4 separate regions of the Homo sapiens genome follow, and regions 2, 3 and 4 are each linked to region 1. Evidence: promoter capture Hi-C in human tissues and cell types (Jung and others, 2019). All regions are on one chromosome and are shown on one strand. The core of a region is centred on a gene start or on the middle of the fragment in contact, and the rest is flanking DNA. Distances in the headings are between cores, read along the strand shown.

Region 1 (2,700 bases), core at 115-2,614:
ACTCAGTTCTCCCAATTCCAAGGGTCCCCACCATGATAGAAAAGGATCTTTTGGTAAATAGAGTATGTTTAGCTCTTGCTAGGTCTTTAAATACTTTGCTGGGGGCCAGGCACCATGGCTCACACCTGTAATCCCACCGCCTTAGGAGACTGAGGCTGGAGGATCCTTTGCGGCCAAGAGTTTGAGACCAGCCTGGGCAACACAGCAAGACCCTATTTCTACAAAAATAAAAATAAAAATTAACCAGGCTTTGTACACACTTGTAGTCCCATTACTTGGGAGGCTGAGGCAGGAGGATCCCTCAAGCCCAAGAGTTCAAAGCTGTAGTGAGCTATGATTGCGCCACTGCACTCCAGCCTGGGTGACAGAGTAAGACTCTGTTTCAAAACAACAACAACAAACAAAAACCTCAAAACCTCTTTGTTGGACTTAACTTCCAGCTCCTCCATGTAGTACCTTAGTACCCTTGCAGCCCGTTTCTCTTTTACAAGACAACAATGTTGTTATAAACTCATTTGGATGTGGTCCCGTGGAGGAGTATTTACCAGAATCTAGCTTATTTAGCGTCTTCAGAACACGGCACTTGCCTGGAATTATACTGACCCCCTCAACCCATACCAACCACCCAGAGATGGCTGTTCTTGGCTCCTCTCCCTGGGGCCCTGTCCTTCCCACATCGTCTTCTTCTTCTTTCTTCTTCTTTCTTCTTCCTTCTTCTTCCTTCTTCTTCCTTCTTCTTCCTTCTTCTTCCTTCTTCCTCTTCCTCTTCCTCTTCTTCTTTCTTCTTTCATTGAGACAGAGTCTCACTCTGTCACCCAGCCTGGAGTGCCGTGGTATGATTTCAGCTCACTGTAACTTCTGCCTTGTGGATTCAAGTGATTCTCCTGCCTCAGCCTCCAGAGTAGCAGGGACTACAGGTGTGTGCCACCACACCTGGCTAATTTTTACATTTTTAAGTAGAGACGGGGTTTCACCATGTTGGCAAGGCTGGTCTTGAACTCCTGATCTCAGGTGATCTGCCCGCCTCAGCCTCCCAAAGTGCTGGGATTACAGGCGTGAGCCACCCCACCCAGCCCTTCCCACGTATTCTGGCAGGGAATGCTGTTGTCCCCCAAGCCTACCCTAAGAGGAAGACTTCTTCTGGGGAAAGATGTTCACTGTACCCAGGCCCTGCCCTGGCTGGAGCTGGCAGGAAGGGTCCCAGAGCAGGAACTTGTGCCACTCTGCCCAAAGCCAGAGTCCCTGAGGCACACACCCCATCAGGCACCAAGGTGAATTCCAACTGCCAGTTAGTATTTAACTTTCCACATACGATTAGATTAAACATGTGGGTTCATAAAAGCATAGGATTGCAGACTGCAGTTGCAAGGGCTTAGATGGTTGTAAGGTGAAGGTGCCCAGCAGGCTGAGGCTTGTGTGCAACCCAGAAGAGAGCTCGCTAACGCCAGCAAGAAGGTTCAGAACAGCCTGGCTTTGGAAAGGAATTTCATCCTGCCCACACACTGCATAGGTAAGTCTTAGCACACATTCTTTATTTTTTGAGGAATTAAGTAACAAAGTTATCTATGTGCCTTTTCCAGAAAATGATAAAAGGAATGATTTTCCTGGTACATGGCCTGGCTCCTCATCCACTCTTCCTTCTTTCCTTCTTGTGTTTTCCTTACTCATTTCTTTGTTAATTGCCTTAGAATGAAAATTTTGAGAGTTTTTAAAATGGAGGATTCATGGTAAACGTAGGTAATCATATTGTTTTCTCTTCTTGATATAAAAATGAAAGACTTTGCTGCCTTTTATAGGCCCAGGTGATGTGAGCGATCTACCATGTTTCAAGAAAAGAAAACTTTGGGGCTGGGCGCGGTGGCTCACGCCTGTAATCCCAGCACTTTGAGAGGCTGAGGCAGGCGGATCACCTGAGGTCAGGAGATCGAGACCAGCCTGGCCAACATAGTGAAACCCCATCTCTACTAAAAATACAAAAAAAATTAGCCTGGCGTGGTGGCTGGCGCCTGTAGTCCCAGCTACTCAGGAAGCTGAGGCAGGAGAACGGCATGAACCCGGGAGGTGGAGCTTGCAGTGAGCCGAGATCACGCCACTGCACTCCAGCCTGGGCGACAGAGTGAGACTCCATCTCAAAAAAAAAAAAAAGAAAGAAAAGAAAACTCTGGACTTTGGGGTCAAATGAGTGTTACTTTCCTAATAGTGTCCTGATTGCTGTTGTCATGAATAACACACATTCATGACAGGAATGGCTGGAATTAGGGGATCATTCTGTAGCCTGGAGACAGGGCACAACTAATGACATGTGTAAGCTCAAATCATGGTCTTGATCTTATGTCTTGTACCCAGTTGAGCCAACTGGTCACAGCAATGAAAACAGTGAGTTATTGGAATGTGTGACCTCTGCTAGGACAGTCAGTGCTGGACACTGGCTTGGGTGATGTGAGTTCTAGTCCAGGCACTGTGGCCAACTTGAGAGGCTTGTGATCTTGGACAGGTGACTTAAGCCCTCTAGGCTATAGTTATTCCACCTATCAGAGAGCAAACCAGCCTAAATGATCTCCAGGGGCCCAGCCTGTGCTAGGACTCAGCAAGAAGCATTCACTGGAAATGTAGGTCCTCCTAGGTTGATACACATGAATTGCCCATATTTGACCATTTCTAACCTATATAAATGGCTATTTCATATAATTCCAGAGAACA
Region 2 (2,700 bases), core at 201-2,700, 240 kb before region 1:
TATATAATATGATTCATAAGCAAAGGAGTACAGCATTTAAATTTTAATAAGTGTTTTCTATCTTTGACCTTTACAAAGCCTATAAAGGTTACTTTTCTAGTCACTTCAAGTTATAACTTCAGGTTCAGGCCTGTAGAGGTAAGTAATCACATTTGAACATGTACTTAGGCATCTTTATGTTTCTTAGTGTTCTAGACTTGTCCTTATTGAATTTTATTCTAATTTAAAAAGTAGTTTCTGTGTTCGATAATTTTTATTCCTTAATTACCTAGAGGACTGAAACTCCTGATTCAATAAATTGTTGGGCAAAAGAGGTTCTCTACAATGAAGAATATTTGATCAAACAGTTCCTGTGGAATCAATTTCATAGTTGGGCTTTGCTTATGTCATTAGGCAAGGCTGGCACTTCACATATTTTTATGTAGATGGTTCTCCCAAGGTCTGCTAGAACTTCAGCCACTTTCCATGACACCCATTTGACTGTTGAAAAGTTAGGGCTCACAGATTTTCAGATTGCTGTGAGAATGTCAATGCAGAATTCACAGGGACAGCCTTTCTATTTGAAAATTTAAATTGCAAGGAAATTTTTTAAAGGAAGTAAGATTTGGAATTAAGATTCAGCAAAGAATGGGAAAGACTTTTACATGTACATTTTCACAGGTTTTGACAGTTCTGTGTCTTGGCTCTACCTTCCCTGAGTCCTGCCTGCTCTTGAGTGTTGTATAACTCTTTGTAACGTGAGGCGGGCAGGGTGTAGGTAGATGCTGCATGCTGTTGAATGTTGTGGATTCTATGTGTGCTTTATTTTCTGGGGAACTAGGGTGTGGTAGTGCTAGCTGGGTATATTGGAGGCCACTGGCTTAAAACTGTCTTTCCCATAGAGTCTAATTTCTAAGATAATTTTGTTGACAAGTTTCTCTTCTGGGATGAAAATATGTTTAATTAGGTTAAACGTTGGTCATTGACTAGTGGTGGTGGTTATGATACTTCCATGAATTCTTAGCTTCAGTAACCTTCCTGAGTGGGGATTTTATTTGGGGGACAAGGAGAGATTCCTTTCTTCCTTTCATTCTTCCCACCTTTTTGCTCTCATCTTTTACTACAGCAACTTTTCCCATTAGCATCTCTAGAACTGTGGTTTTCAAAATATGGTTTGAGGACTCTTGGGCTTTACGGGGGACCCTTTTAGAAGATCATTGTGAAAACAGTAGTGAGTAGAACAGCTGGTACGTTAGCATGAATCTAGTCAGCAGCATTAACTTTTCCTAGCAGTACGTGTATTCTTCATTGCTATGCAGTTGCAGTTTTCAAAACTGGCTTCACTGCAGAATGTCCTTCAGAATGATGAGTGGTACCAGAGTAGTATTTAGTCTTGGTAGGGGCTTTAAGAAGTTGTTGAGTTCAACCTCCCACCCATGCAGATATTAATCCAACAGCCATCCTGTATCTATTTATGTACTTCAAGTGATGGGAAGGTCACTACTTCACAAGGCAGCCCACTGCATTTTCATACAGCTGTATATTTTTGGAAATATGTTCTTGTTTACAAAATACAGCTTGATTTCTCTAATTTTTACCCTTTGATTCTAGTCCACTCTTGGAATCCAATCAAAATAAAACAAATCTACCTTTTGCATAATAGCCCTGCAAATATTTGAAGTTAGCTCTTGGGTTTTCCCTAAGTCTTTTGTAGGCTAAACATTAGTTTTGGTAATTAATATAAAAAATTAGCTTTAATTTCTTCTAGGATTAATTACCTTTTTTATAAGTATTATACTATTTCGTTAAATTTTTGGATAGTACTTTATCTTACCTAATCAGCAAATAATTATAATGTAATTTTAACATTTATATTTATATGTGTATTGGAATTTGATATTTGAAATGTATAAAATATTTAATTAATTTCACTTCTAGATGAATTGTAGGTATTTTTGAAATACAGTATTGGTGTGAACAGCATTTTGGTACTGCGTGAAGTAAATGGGAAAACATTAGTATTGTAATTTTGCCTCAGTGTTACAGTTACCACCTTGATAGTGAGCTTTGTTGTATATGAAAAGTGGCTTCAAGTTATGTTAGAGATAGAAGGAAACTTAGAGTTCCTTGAGGAAAGATAGGAGTAAGTAAGCAAGAGACCCTCTTAAAGGAGGTACAATTAGCACAGCTATTTCTAGCACCTGTTCGATGAGTGTGGCCCATTTTAGACGTTGGGAATACAGTCATGTACAAGATAGACAAAGGTCCTTGCTCCTCTGTAGCTTACATTCTGGTTAGTGAAAGAATATTTTTAGATTGCTGTAGTGCTGTTAGAAGTAAAAAAAGAATGACATCAGGAGAACTGGGGGATGGAGGTGCATTTTGGTGATGAAGATATCAGAATTGGGGGGCATAAAAAGACTTTCATCAAACTTTGTTGTGCCTCCAGCAGATGTTGAGAATTGCAGTATGAATGTTGTTTATTCATGTGAAGCTTGTAGCAACAGGAAAATCGAGAACTACTAATTTAGCAGATGAGGAAACTGAGGTACAAGTTTAAAATTGATAAATTTTAATAACATATTCAGGTTTGTATAACTCATTAGTGAATGAGCTAGGACTAGAATCATAGTCCTAGTTTTTCTAGTTTCCATTCCCATTCATTCATTCCTTTCTTTCTGTATTTTTTTTTCAAATGAATGTTTTCAGCCCTCAGTCTGT
Region 3 (2,700 bases), core at 189-2,688, 140 kb after region 1:
GTCCGGTCACACAGATGTGAGAAGATGGAGAAATGTTCACCTAAACAGCTGGTGTGTGAAGTCCTGCCTCTGTCAGCTGAGCTCACATGGGAAAGATCCCCAGTCCCTAGGCCCCACATCAATGGGCACAGGGCCTTCGGAGGAAAGGACAACCACTCCGTCGTGGAGGGAGAACACTTTGGACTCGGGTGTGTGTTTGAGGGATTCCAGAGGGTAGAGGTTGAGGAAGAGGAGTTGGGAGAGTGAGAAGGTAGGATGTTGCACAGGATGAGACCCTTCCTCTCAAACCAAACCTAATAGCCAATAAGTACAGGAAAAGATCCTTGACATCTCTAGTGATCAGGGAAATGCAAATCCAAACCCCAATAAGAAACCACTTCATACTCTCCAGGGTGGCCAGAATACAAAAGGCTGAGAACAAGTATTGGGAGGATGTGGAGAGATCAGAACACTCCTACGCTGCTGGTGGCAATGTAAAACGGTACAGCTGCCTTGGAAAACAGGTCCCCAAATGTTAAACACAGAGCTATCACAGGACTCAGCAATTCCACTCCTACATATATACCCTGAGAGAAATGAAAGTACATGTCCACATGGACACTTGGACACAAATGTGCATAGCAGCATTATTCATAGTAGCCAAAACCCAAATGTTCATCAACTGATGAATGAACTGACACAATGTGGTCTATCCAGACAATGGAATATTAGTCATGAAAAGGGATGAAGTACTTATACTTGATATACCATGGATGAACCTCAAGTATGTTAGGCTAAGTGAAAGAAGCCAGTCACAAAAGACCTCCTGTTATGTGATTCATTCATATGAAAGTCCAGAATAGGGAAATCTATAGAAACAGAAAGAAGATTAGTGGGAACTTAGGGCTCAGCTTGCGAGGTGGGGGCAGGGGCAGGAAGATGGGAGGTGACAGCTAAAGGGTTTGGAGTTTTGTTTGGAGGTGATGAAAATGTTCTAAAACTGACCGAAGTGATGGTTGCACATATCTGTGAATAGACCAAAAACCATTGATCATACACATTAAATGGGCGAATTGTATACATGCAAGTTATATCTCAGTTAAGGCATTAAGAACTAAACAAAAACTAAGAACACAGATCTTCTGTCTTTCCTATTTATTTATTTATTTTGAGACAGAGTCTTGCTCTGTCACCCAGGCTGGAGTGCAATGGCGTGATCTCGGCTCACTGCAACCTCCGCCTCCTGGGTTCAAGCAATTCTTCTGCCTCAGCCTCCCAAGTAGCTGGGATTACAGGCACCCGACACCACACCCGACTAATCTTTTGTATTTTTAGTAGAGATGGGGTTTCACCATGTTGGCCAGGCTGGTCTGGAACTCCTGACCTCAGGTGATCCACTTGCCTCGGCCTCCCAAAGAACTGAGATTACAGGCGCGAGCCACCACGCCTGACCACCTTGATCACCTTTTTTTTTTTGGAAAGCAATGAGGGAGCAACACTTTGTTACCTGGGAGGCGTGGACCAAAAGAGAGGCAGAGGCTGGAGGGAGAGTGTGAGGCAGGGATCAATGGGCATCATGCCAGGCTTAGGGCATCCCCAAAGCTGTGGGATTGGGGCTTGAAGCCCAGGTCTTAGAGACCTGAGCAGGCCCAGCTGACACAGGCTGCAAACAAATGTCCTCTCATCCTCACCGCAATCCCTACAAGCTGCTCACCTCCTGTTGCCATGTGGATGTGTCCTGAGTGGCCCACGCAGATTTCTACACTTGATCCCCTCGCTTGAAATAAAAGGAGATAAAGTGAGTACAAACACCCTTATGCATTACTGTAGCTCAAACGAGGCCAGACTAGATCCTAAAGAAGACCTGGCGTGGGCCATCTTCTAGAGTCATCCCACCTCCCAGGACAAGCAAAGGTCCTGCCTCCAAGTCATTGCAACTTATATGACACAGCAAGGCAATATAGACTCTGGGGGAAAAAGTTTTTTAACTACAGTATTTTTAAAATAGAACATTATTTTGAAATTACTTCGACATCTACTGTCAGGTGACTTGTAAAAGCGCTTGTATGTTAAATGCTCTACATTAGGAGATTATTTTGTTCTTGAGTCCCTACAGAGAATTCCTTGGGAATGAAGTGCTATTGTGCATTCAGAATTATGTGGCTATAGCCATATTGCAGGCCGGGAACTCAGGAATGTCCCCTCTGTCCCAGCTCTTCAAGTTGGGCCCTACAGATCCCACGGGGACAAGCTTTTGGAAAATTGCTGGGTTTCTAGACCAATCACGTCTTTGAAATGTCTTCTTGTCACTCCGTGGTTTCTTGCTTCAGCTTAACCCCACTGGCCCCATAGATCAGGCAGCTCACAATTTGAACACAGCCAGGGGGCATGGAGGATGAGAACCAATCTATCCTGACAATCCTGGCAGCACGTGGGGAAAGCCAGGCCCAAGTTTCCATATGTGAACACATTACATTGTCTCCACCAAGAAAAGAGCCCCTGTGAAATATTCATGTGCGTCACCCACTTTGCCTTAGGTTCCATTACCTAAGGGACAGACCTGGTGTTGCTCAACAGTGCCAGGCTTAGCACTGCCAGGGGAGATCTGCAGCTACAAAGAGTTAAAGAAGAAGGAATTGAATTGAGTTATAAGCAATACATCTAATAAATATTTATTGAGTGACTATTTCATTCCAAGCATTCTGCTAGGTGCTGAGAAAT
Region 4 (2,700 bases), core at 88-2,587, 210 kb before region 1:
ACAGTGTGTGCTTTGAAATGTGCGTAGGAGCGTGTGAAAAGTACAAATTATTCTCTCTCTGCTGTGGTCTGGGCTACTGCCATTTGCGTTAGGAGGTCTCCGCAGAGAGATGACGGCACCTGTAATGGCCTTGTGATGCTACCTGCCAGTCCCTGGCCTGTTTTCTGCACCTGGAAACAGACAAGTATGGTGTTGATGGTGGGAAGTTTCCAAGGCGATTTGTGGGATTCTTGGTCACCTTGAAAAAATGCAGTAGTGGAATGATCATAGGACTTTGGGTTGGAGAACTGCTCAGAGAACTCTCCACCCACCAGCCTTGACCATGTTCAGTTTCTTCTCCCGGTCTAAGTGTCCTCACATGGAAAATGTGGCCAGTGAAGCAGATGGTCTCAAAGAGCCTGTCCTGGTCTCTAATACCCTGGACCGAGTTACTGCCTGGTTTGCTGAAGAGTTATTCCATCAGTGATTAAAGAACTTGGTAGTTGGTAGGATATGGAGGTGGGGAAGGGTTAAAATAATTTCTTAGAGGCTTATTCTTTGCACACTTCTTTTCATGTTCTGATAAGCATAGCTGTTGTTTTCATAACCTGCCATTGGATTCTGTGGGGCTGACTAGTAATCTCATTCTAAACAGAATAGGCCTGTCTTTAATCACAAGAAAACAGCAAAGGAGTCCCAGAGGTCAGCACAGTCATTTGCTGGGCTCAGATTGCCAGCATTCTTTTTGTTCTCTGAAAATGAAGCTTTAAGGGACATGGCTTACAGCCAAATACAGGCAAGACACATTCTGTTAGTCGCAGGAGGAAAACCATGTCGAAACGAAAAGTCCATATTGGTGGTAGTTTTTTGAGAGCTACACCACAACCCCCAAAATTGACCTCTAAAGTGACAACAGTAAGACCTGGATAATCCTGCACATTCCTAGTGCCACCACAACCCAGTGAGATTAACAAAAGACTCATGGAACCAAACTTCATCCCCAAAGTATTCAGGTCCGCTGGGCTGCTGAAGGGGAGCAGCACTGGTGTCTGGGTGTGGCATCTGAACCTTTGCTTCCAGAACACCAGCATCGTCACATTTCTCAGAGAAAGCAATTTGCCTTGAGACAGTTCCATTGTGAGTGGAAGAGACAAGGGTGCATTGTTCACCAGACAATGCCTGAAGTAAGGATTATGCAAAATGGACTCTTGACCTCTCTATTCCAAATAAGTGGGAGACTCTGTAGTTTCCATAAAGCTTGTATTGAGCTAAATGATGTGACTTGGATGTAGCATCCTTTGTCTAATCGGATACCAAAATGTTAAGCACCTATTTGTGAAAGACTGGATATTACACTTTGACAGAGGTGTCAGGCTCTGTTAATTGGTATCGTGGATGCTCATTATTGGCAGATTCCATATTTGCGAGTCTGCTTACTTGCTAAAATTTATGTCCTCAAAATGAATACCCATGATACTTTTGTAGTCATTCAACGGGTATGTGTAGAGTAGCAAAGAATTTGAGTCACTTGACAAGTCTGTTCCCTGTCGAACAAAGCAACACTCTGCCTTCTTGTTCCAGCTCTCATACTGTAAACAAGTGTCTTTTTCACTATTTAGTGCCATTTTTTTTTTTTGCATTTGTGTGCTTTTTCATGGTGCTTTTGCTGTTTCAAATGGCCCCCAAGTGTAGTGCTGCAGGACTGTGTTCTAAGCGCAAGAAGGCTGTGATGTGCCTTTTGGAGAAGATACCTGTTAGACAAACTTGTTCAGCCATGAGTTCTAGTGCCATTGGCCTTGAGTTCAATGTTAATCAACAGTATGTAGTAAACGTCTTTAAAACGAAACACACATAAAACAAGCTCACGGATTGATGGGTTGACATAAGCGTTGTGACCAAAGGCTAACCTAACCCTGTATTTCCCCTAGGAGCGATAATTCAGGGTTCTCTAAGTCAGTGTTGATGGCAACTTTAAAGAACACAACTACTGCAGATAACAAGAATAGGCTCTATTTGATGCAGGAATTTTGCTTAGTTTTCTGCTGAGGGTCTTTTTGACATCTTTCTGTAAATCTCCAACTTTTACCTGCAAAAAAGGGGAGTTTGATTCCCACCATTTTTCTTACTCTGCTTGTCTTGTCTGTCTCCCACCATCCTGCCTCCTCTTCTCATGCACACAAACTTTCATCCTCCACCATCTCCCGTCCACTAGGCAACTATGACATCTGCATGAGCAAGGGGCCTTCTCTTTGAAAGGAGCCCTTAGAAAAGTACCTTGGCAGAGAATTTGGTGATGTGGCCAGAAAGAGCCAGACTGTACTAGGAGAGCCTGGATGCAGTACTCCTGTTACCTTCCAGCCTCAGGAACAGGCAGATTGGATGGGGTTTAGTGAGGCCAAGGAAAGGGATAATTAGTAAGTATAGCAACTCTCCTCTGCAGGCACCATGACAGCTCAGGAGTTTTCAAATACTCTCCAAATACATTTTAATTACTTTTAAAACACCAGCAAAGGGTCATTCACAAAGCAAAATCACAGGGGATTTTAAAGGCGCTGATTTTATAAAGTTAGCAGTTAAATGTTTTAAAAGCTTGTTCCTCTTCCATATATCTTACCAGATCTAAAAATAATATGAAGAAGTTATTTATAAATGTGGCTAAGTAAAATGCTAAAGAAATCTCTGTTAACCGCTCTGTTAACCCAAATGGTTTTGGGGTTAAAT

What was found. The method cuts DNA at HindIII sites, captures the fragments that hold promoters and counts their contacts. A contact is called where the count stands out against the background at its distance.
Region 2: a fragment that was not itself captured here is called in contact with the fragment with the promoter of KCNE2 in region 1 in 1 of the 25 tissues and cell types used here (dorsolateral prefrontal cortex).
Region 3: a fragment that was not itself captured here is called in contact with the fragment with the promoter of KCNE2 in region 1 in 4 of the 25 tissues and cell types used here (H1 embryonic stem cells, lymphoblastoid cells, mesenchymal stem cells and 1 more).
Region 4: a fragment that was not itself captured here is called in contact with the fragment with the promoter of KCNE2 in region 1 in 2 of the 25 tissues and cell types used here (dorsolateral prefrontal cortex and heart left ventricle).

Annotation. Positions count from the first base shown.
Region 1 is chr21:34,362,642-34,365,341 of GRCh38, forward strand. KCNE2 (potassium voltage-gated channel subfamily E regulatory subunit 2) reads left to right here and starts at 1,365. Exons shown (of 2, transcript NM_172201.2): 1 at 1,365-1,510. The region is part of intron 2 of LOC105372791 (a long non-coding RNA gene); the gene reads right to left. The HindIII fragment of the contact is 19,800 bases long and covers 1-2,700 here.
Region 2 is chr21:34,118,840-34,121,539 of GRCh38, forward strand. The region is part of intron 1 of MRPS6 (mitochondrial ribosomal protein S6); the gene reads left to right. Among named protein-coding and RNA genes, the nearest start is that of SLC5A3, 47 kb to the left of the region's middle. The HindIII fragment of the contact is 5,228 bases long and covers 1-2,700 here.
Region 3 is chr21:34,504,003-34,506,702 of GRCh38, forward strand. The region is part of intron 2 of KCNE1 (potassium voltage-gated channel subfamily E regulatory subunit 1); the gene reads right to left. Among named protein-coding and RNA genes, the nearest start is that of KCNE1, 6.9 kb to the right of the region's middle. The HindIII fragment of the contact is 7,108 bases long and covers 1-2,700 here.
Region 4 is chr21:34,147,904-34,150,603 of GRCh38, forward strand. No RefSeq gene overlaps it. Among named protein-coding and RNA genes, the nearest start is that of LINC00310, 31 kb to the right of the region's middle. The HindIII fragment of the contact is 3,436 bases long and covers 1-2,700 here.